Regions from separate parts of the Homo sapiens genome. Here regions 1 and 3 are each linked to region 2. The links are contacts of gene promoters, found by promoter capture Hi-C in blood cells and fetal thymus (Javierre and others, 2016). All regions are on one chromosome and are shown on one strand. The core of a region is centred on a gene start or on the middle of the fragment in contact, and the rest is flanking DNA. Distances in the headings are between cores, read along the strand shown. Region 1 overlaps SMYD3 (SET and MYND domain containing 3). Region 2 holds the start of SMYD3-AS1 (SMYD3 antisense RNA 1). Region 3 overlaps SMYD3 (SET and MYND domain containing 3).

Evidence for each region. Contacts are between HindIII fragments. The CHiCAGO score rates a contact against its expected background, and 5 or more counts as called.
Region 1: a contact is called between a fragment that was not itself captured here and the fragment with the promoter of SMYD3-AS1 in region 2, in 1 of 17 cell types (megakaryocytes). The highest score is 7.8, in megakaryocytes.
Region 3: a contact is called between a fragment that was not itself captured here and the fragment with the promoter of SMYD3-AS1 in region 2, in 1 of 17 cell types (megakaryocytes). The highest score is 6.0, in megakaryocytes.

Annotation. Positions count from the first base shown.
Region 1 is chr1:246,279,649-246,282,348 of GRCh38, reverse strand. The region is part of intron 5 of SMYD3 (SET and MYND domain containing 3); the gene reads left to right. Among named protein-coding and RNA genes, the nearest start is that of SMYD3-IT1, 41 kb to the left of the region's middle. The HindIII fragment of the contact is 786 bases long and covers 900-1,685 here.
Region 2 is chr1:246,107,356-246,110,055 of GRCh38, reverse strand. It overlaps SMYD3-AS1 (SMYD3 antisense RNA 1), which reads right to left and starts at 1,430. Exons shown (of 4, transcript NR_183265.1): 1 at 1,339-1,430; 2 at 163-274. The region is part of intron 5 of SMYD3 (SET and MYND domain containing 3); the gene reads left to right. RefSeq lists an enhancer at 1-5. The HindIII fragment of the contact is 2,656 bases long and covers 597-2,700 here.
Region 3 is chr1:246,262,303-246,265,002 of GRCh38, reverse strand. All of the region lies in intron 5 of SMYD3 (SET and MYND domain containing 3), which reads left to right. Among named protein-coding and RNA genes, the nearest start is that of SMYD3-IT1, 59 kb to the left of the region's middle. The HindIII fragment of the contact is 851 bases long and covers 1,024-1,874 here.

The DNA.
Region 1 (2,700 bases), core at 43-2,542, 170 kb before region 2:
TTTTTTGCTTTTTTTTTTTTTTTTTTTTTTTTTTTTTTTTTTTGTAGAGATGAGGGTCTTGCCATGTTGCCCAGGCTGGTCTCAAACTCCTGGGCTCAAGCAGTCCTCCTGGCTTGGCCTCCCAAAGTGCTAGGATTACGGGCATGAACCACTGCACCTGACCAGGAAACAATTTTTAGACCTCTACATTATATTTGTTTTTATGATCTTCTGTCTTTCCTACTATGCCATGATCTATATAAGTAAAGTATACATATTTGGACCTTTAAAACTGGATTCACATAGTCCCCGTCTTGCAGAACTATTTTTCACATCATTTGGTCTTGTAGATATGTTACAAAAACAGAAAGGAATTTAATGACATTCTACCTCCTCTCTCTTTTTTCCTCTTTAATAGGTTTCATTTCCAATAGCCCAGCACCAGTGTGTCATTGTCCTCTGATTTAGGAGTCCTTTTTCTGTTTGATTTTGAGCTGACTGGTAGTATGAGCTGTATTGACATAGCATTCTGTTTACTTATGTCTTGGAACTTCTCCTTTTCTTTCCATAGTCACGTATGGGTGTCTGTGCTCAGGAATCAAAGCCTTTGCCTCTTCTTTCTTTTCCTCCACTGTTTTCTCAGTGCCTAAGCATAGGTTATGCCCATAGTATGTATTTAGTAGCTACATTCTTTCAATAATATTTTCATTTGTATGTTTTGCAGATGTTTTTAGAGTGCCTACTATGTGCCTTTACTGAGGTATATGAGGTTCTGAGGATACAGAGATGACAATAACGTAATTTCCTGTGCTTAAGGTGTTTGCTGTTGTTTAGAGGAGAAACATCTCTTTAAAGGAAAAACATTGCGGTATGATATGATCAGTATTCTCACAGAGCTTTACTCACCCATGATACAAGCTTGAGCATAAAATCACCTATCTCACAGAGTTACTGAGTAGGGTAAATGTGATAGTGTGTGGAAAGCACCTAACTGTAGTAGTCTCTGGCACATAGTAGGTTGCCAATCAATGGCAGCCATTATAATTCATAAAGCACAGTGAGTTCACAAAGAAGGAAGAGAACACATTGTCCTGGGCCATTTCAGTAACGAATCTCAAGTGACCTGGCACCAGTGAGGCAGGCTCTACCACGGGCTGAATGGGGACCCCACTTCCTTCTCACCTGTGTGGTGTCCAATGATATGCTAGAATTGAATTCTCAGATGTATCTTTTCAATGACTCATAAATGCCTGTAAGTACCTGGAGGGCAGGTGCTGTGATTAGAAAAATCTTTATTTCCCGGCAGTCTTTGAGAAATCTGTAAATGTCTATTGAGTGCATTAGGTTTTAGAATAAATTCATAGGCTATAGGAGATACTTCTTTGGAATATTAGTGTGATTTTAATTGCTAGGTTTTTGCAAATAAAATAGACAAAGGTCTGAGGAAGGCATCCTTCCATTTGGAATTTGGTACAACTAGCCATCTTTGTCCCACGTTTTGTTTTTGAGGTGGCAGCCTGATCAAATATAGGTTGAACTATAGAATGCAGTTAGCTCTTGAAGCATCTGATAAATGCAGAAACAGAAAAGATGAGGCCAGCAGGGGTCAGTTTAATACCAGTTTAAGTTGCAAGCACAGTGTTTTTTTAATTCTCTGTAAAGTGGAATGATAATAGAAACTGACATGCACAGTCTAAATGTAAGCTTTAACATTTCAAGCTACAGTAGGAGATTGCCAAAAATTGAGGTAGATGTCTTTAACATTCTTTTAAAGAGAGAAATGGAGATTTCACTGTGTTGCACTGGCTGGACTCGAACGCCTGGGCTCAAGCAATCCTCCTGCCTCAGCCTCCCAAGTAGCTACTGTGCCCAGCTTCTCTAAGATTTTTAAGTAGATGATGGAGATTATTAGTGACAGAAGGTAAACTATGGAATGTGGATAGTTTAGCTCTCTTTTCTGTCGCATGGCAGCATAGGACTTTCAGCCAAACCGATTTACTCCACTAACTGGCTTGTACTGACAAGTGCTAGAAAAAGCCTGACTATATCATGTGCATTTCTTTGATGTTCGTTACTTGGTAGACTTTATAAAATAATACTTTGTGCCTATTTTTTTCCTAGCTGGTTATAAAGAAAAGTTAGTTTTAGTTATAGCTTGCATATGAAATGTCAATATTTCCAAGTTACAGTTATAAGAAACTGAGCATGGAATGATTACTTGAGGACATTAAACTTTAAATAAAATCACCTCATGCTACTATATATATTCCTTTGTTATCTTCGTGGATATGAATGGCCTTTTCTTTGCAACCTAATGTATGGCATTCACATTTATAAGACTAGGCTCCCAAATCCTAAGAACATCGTGTGTGCTAAACTCAGAATTCTGCATACTAATCTTACTTACTACGAGTAAGTACTCTTAGCAGATAAAATTGTTTTCTTGATGCCTTAGTACACTTTCCCCCCAAGATACTATAATTGTTCAACTAAAGATTTTTATATAATGTAGAATGATAGACTCTTAGACCTGGAAGACGCCTTAAGGATCATAAAGCCTTGTTTTATAGAGAAGTTGTGTGATGCGTCACAGGCAGGGCTGTCCCTGGCAGAGCAATTCACACTTCTTGGACTGTTCTTCCCCATGGTACTACACTATCGTCTTTTCTCTCCCTACTCTATTCTTCCCTGTTCAATAGTCTGCATATTTGAGCTTCCTGC
Region 2 (2,700 bases), core at 181-2,680:
AATATAACTGAAGAGACATTATCTGTTGTGACTGCAGCTGAAGCACCAACTTTTAACCAGTATTAGCACTGCTTATTTCAGCTCCTATCCTTATCTCAAATAATTCTGCCTTCCTATAACACATGATGGGGACCCCTGGGAGCCGCCAAAAAGGACACTTACTCTGAGGTCTTGCCCAGGTCTCTGCTTCTTCCTCCTTGTTCCCAGATGGCAAACGGACATCCTCATAGTAAGACTGGGCTGCTTTCCACCTGCGCAGCCCCATGGTAAGCACCTGCAGCTCCAGAGGGAATTTATTTTAGTAAAACAAACAAACCTGGAGACCAGGAGATCAATTATCAGTAGTTTGGTAATAATTGAAAACTAGGTCAGAGGCTTCTATTCCTTTTTCCATGAGAGCTGGATATGTGAGGTTGTTCTTGATGAAAGCTGAATTTTTAAATGCAGGTTAATGGCTTTCTTGGAAGCCAGCAAGCAATTAAGGTTTTCTCATCCATGCAGAAATTACAGCTGCAGGGGGCAATTTTTAAAAATTCCTTTGGATTCTTAGAACATACTATATTTATTTATTTTCCCTTAAATTCTGACCTTAAGCTTAAAAATAAGTTTGTTAATACTAACGTTGTTTTCCCTTGAGCTAGCTTTGAACCTCAAATGAATTGCAAACTGCGAAGTGACTGCTGTAGGGCTACTCTTCAGTAAGCTGGTCCAGTTATATGGTAATGAATCCATTTATAAAAAAAATTGTATGTGAGCTGTTTCCAAGGCTATTATAGTATTTCTTTATCAGACTATACATAATTTTACGTTTGTAACATGGTACAGTTCCAACTGAATAGGCAGTAATTTTCTTTATTAGAGTTGCATTTTAGAGTGGTTCATTCATCAGATTTTTATCAAATATATTCTTCGTGTCATTCATTGTGATAGGTTCTGGAATATGATTAAGAAATGGTCCCTGAACTCCAGGGGCTCACAGTCTAGGAAGAAAAAAGACAAATAAAATTATACCAATATAATGAATGCAGTTCCATGGCATATGAAGAGTGTTATAGAAACACAGAGCAAAGATGTAACCCTACCTAGTGTCAAAGAAGACTACACAGAAGATGGTGCATTAGAAGGAAGAGAAAGAATTGGCTGCACCAACAGGAGGAGGGGAAAGGACCTTCTGAGAAAGAGAAGAGTGTGTGCAAAGCAGTGGAGGCCTCAGGGAGGATGGTGGTCTGCTAATACTGAGTTTAGTGTGGTTGTCTTTGTCTTACGTTGCTTGCAGGGAATAAAGCTAGTATTTGCTTTGCTAGCTGGACTGAGCTGGGCTATACTAAGTTGTCTGACCTTTATCCCGTACACAACAGGAACTACAGGAGGTTTTCAAGAAAGGGAGTGAAGTCAGATTCATAGTTGAGAAAAACATTCTAGTAACTAAGTGGTGAATAGAATGAAGAATGGGAGCACTGATTGGAAAGCATTTATAATAGACGGTGGAGGGCAAGTTTTAGGAAGCAGGCAGTGATTGTGATGTCAGAATCAATTTGTATGATATTTAAATAGTCCACCCGGAACTCAGTAAAGCAAAGATTGTTGAAGAGGGTGAGCTTGAGAGACTGGATGGATGTTGATAACATTAATTGTGTGAGGGTGTGATCTCTTTGCTGAGATTTTAAGTACGGTAATTTTCTGATGTGATACCTGTATTCATAGCGTAACCTGTGACCCTATTTGGATAGCCCTTATGCCTCTGTATTATGATTGTCAGTCACTTCCCTGAACTATAAACTTCTTGAGGTCAGAGATAAGTTTTAGTGGTTCTTGTTCCACAGCCTCTGACACAGGGCTTAGTTATGTAATAGGTGCTTGGTAGATTTTGGATGTTTAGACGTGGATGCATCAGCCATCTACTTAAGAATTCCTCTTTCGAATTCTTCCTTTGCACAAGAAGACCTTTGTTTCTTAACCCAAAGAAGACGAGCTCTGTAAGTCCGTTATAATTTTCATTTTATGGCCAAGTTTCTCTGGACTTTCATTTTCCAGAAACTACCTATCTTAGATTTTGCTCTTTCCTTAGTGACAACTCAGTAAAGTTCCTATTGTTCAGAGATTACATGATGAAGTAGATATATACATGTGTGTTTTTTCTTCTTTAAGTTTGGCTATTTGAACCTGTGGCTCTGTGGTGTAAACAGTAATTCCTTTCCAGATTTATTTATTTGGAAGTTTTTGGGTCTTTAAAAATTACTCCTGTGTTTCTGGTCTTGAGTTAAATCCACTTATAATTGCCCTAGGGGTTCCCATGGCATCAGCACAGCTGGAGGTCTGGTGGGCTTTTGTAAATGGCATTTGGAAGAGTGATTCATTTGCCAAAGCATTAGCAATCTTTTGTATTGTTTCCATGTGGTTTTTGTCTAAAGAGACAAGTGCTGGGATTTTATTTATTTAATAAACTTTGTTTGAATGAGCTAATTTCCCCACTGTCCAGAATTACTAAGGGAAGACCTGAGCATTTATTTCAAGGACTTATTCTATCCATTCCTTGCTTCAGTGGGGAGCAGTCACTTCTGTAGCCACCAACTACCTGATAGTCTAGTCTTTTCTGTGATTAAATTATAAAAATAATCTCTTTGTGAACTTGTCTGCTTTTGGTATAAGGTCGCATATTTAAAGAGCAATCTGTGATGAGATATGTTGGCTTCATTTTCT
Region 3 (2,700 bases), core at 200-2,699, 150 kb before region 2:
TTTAAAAATCACTCTCCTGTAGTTTTTTATTTCTTCACAATTATCAGTTGGAAACTAAATTTGTTCATCTCGTAATAAGACTGATTCTGTATGCATCATAGAATTGCAAACATTAAGTAACAAAGTCCATGTAAAGTGTTTAGAACATAGCACTTAGTAAATAGTGGTTATTATTGTTGTCACTATCCCCACTGTCTTTCTTTGTAGATATTTACTTTCACCTTTTCTTCTATAGCAGAGCCACTAACAGGTAATAGAGAAGTAACTAGTTAGATCTTAGGAATTTAAGAAGCACTTCAAGATGTGGACAGAAAAGGATTTGGTTCAGATTGCATACTCTTAGGCTATGGAGATGGTACCTGCAATTCCCATAGAATGTGTATAAAGCACTGTATTGCATTAGAGGCCATGGGATTACAAAAGCTATTCTTTGTAAGACATCTTAGAATGTTGTTGATGTGTGAGAATAAAATCATATTGAAAAAATATAGAAAAGTTACCGTCTTTCATCAGTTCTAAGATGCAGGGTCTCACCATCTTGCCCAGGCTGGTCGTGAACTTCTGGGCTGAAGCCATCCTCCTACCTTGGCTTCCCAAAATGCTGGGATTATAGGTATGAGCCATTGCACCCAGCTAATTGTTTTTGTTTTAATCAATTACCATATTTTTAGCACTGCTGTGGCTTATGCTTTGTTCCTTTTTACTACTACTTGCTTTGAATGATGCTTAAAATGGACCCTTAGGAAGATGACTGTATTGAATTATTATATTCAGAACAATTGATATACTAATTTAAAAAGAATATACAGTCCCAAGTGATAGAATAAACAAGAGTTACTGCTTAGTATACAATAAATTTTGTATTCATTTGATTTCCCTCAGAAGTCTGTATTCGAAATCTGAGTTTCCTTCTATTTATATGTAGGTTACAAAGTTTTTAAAAAGGCAACAAAAAAAAAAACATTTATTTCTGCTCTTCTTAGGCAATATGGCCTTTTGGCTAGAACTCAGAAATTAAAAGCTTGATTTGTTGGTTGTGTAGGCATCTTATATCTAAGGAATTATTTTGGCTTAATTTGGGGATAAAATATTAATTACACCTAATAAGCAGAAATGTAATTATTTAAGACAGTTACTGTCTTACACATTTTTCACTTAAGATATGAAGAAGTGGTTAACGTAATTTCTTCTTCTGGGACTTAAAAGAAATGTTCAAATTAACCACTATTTAGGTTTGATCATGCCTTTGGAAGGAATTGGTATTATCCTTTGAAAATGAAAAGGCATAATTTGTTGAAGGTACATAGAATTGTACAAAAAGAAATCAGTAATTTTCCCATTTTTACTATTAAGTTATATCATAAGCAGCTATTTTGAATGACAGTATGAAAAAGTATGTTTGTGTTTTAAGGAGGCTGTTTTTGAATTAGGAAAGATAAATACGCTGGTATGAAGATCAGCTCATTCAGGAGCAGGCATTTTCCTGCATACTAAGGAGCTTTAAAGGTTAGACAGTAAAAAGAAGGTGATCATTATGTAGTCTGCTCCACCTCATGCCTACCAGAAAATTTATTTCCCAGCCTCCCTAACTTTTCTACTTCAATATACAGCTAACTGTTAATGAGCCCTAACTCTGACCTGGGTATGTGCCCAGGTCACATACATCCTGTCATTTAGTCCTCACCATAATCTCTGAGTGCACAGTAGATGCTGTTAGAATTATCTGTATTTTATAGTACAGAAACAGCCTCAGAAAAGTGAAATAACTTCCCTCAAAATAAGGTAGCTAGTAAATGGCAGAGCTAACATTCAACCTTATCCATGTCTGACTACAAAGTAATCCATCCATTACTTACCTTTTTTCATGGTAAGCTTTTGCTTTTTGGTCAACACTATGCATTGTGCCTTGAGTACATGTACCAACATTGGAAGACCATTCCCATGTGATATTTGTAATAGAATTAGGTATTCAAATCACGCATTCTTGAGACAATTAAAGAATGTAGGATTTATTTACATACAAAGTTGAGAGAATGTGCATCATGCTGTGTCAGGCTTCCTTTCCATGATTCTGTTAGTTTTCAGTGCAGGTATTTGCCACCTGACTTGGGTTTCCTAGATGTCTATAATCAATGAAATATTTTCTCTTTTGAAAAACTATTTTTAAAATACATGTTTTAACAGTGTTGAATTACAAGATGTTTTAAGATAATATAAACCTGGACCCAAATTTCTATGTAAATGTTTATTTTATAGAGACAAGTAAATTAACCAAATAATTCAGTGAATCTTCATTGAGAACCTAATATGACCTAGGTACTGTGCTAGGTGTCAGAGACCGGCTATATGGTTTAGTAGAAAGAGAAATGGTAGACGCTGTGCCAAGCATAGTGCCTGGAACAAGCAGAAAGTCCATAAGAAATATATGTTAACTGAAAGGAAGAACAAAATGGAAACTGTGTCTGTCTGAGTCACCCAAATTAGTAATGTCTGTGAGTTTATTTCCTCATCTGAAATGAAGGGTAATAAAACCTACCTCAGAAGGATTGTTGTCAAGATTAAACGAGTTAAGATATGGGAATATGTCCAGAACTGTGTTTGGTACATATTAGATGTTTAATAATTGTTAGTCATAGTGCGAAAAATAAGTAACACATTATTCCCATTCTCAAGCAATGTCAAGATTTAAAATCGGATTCT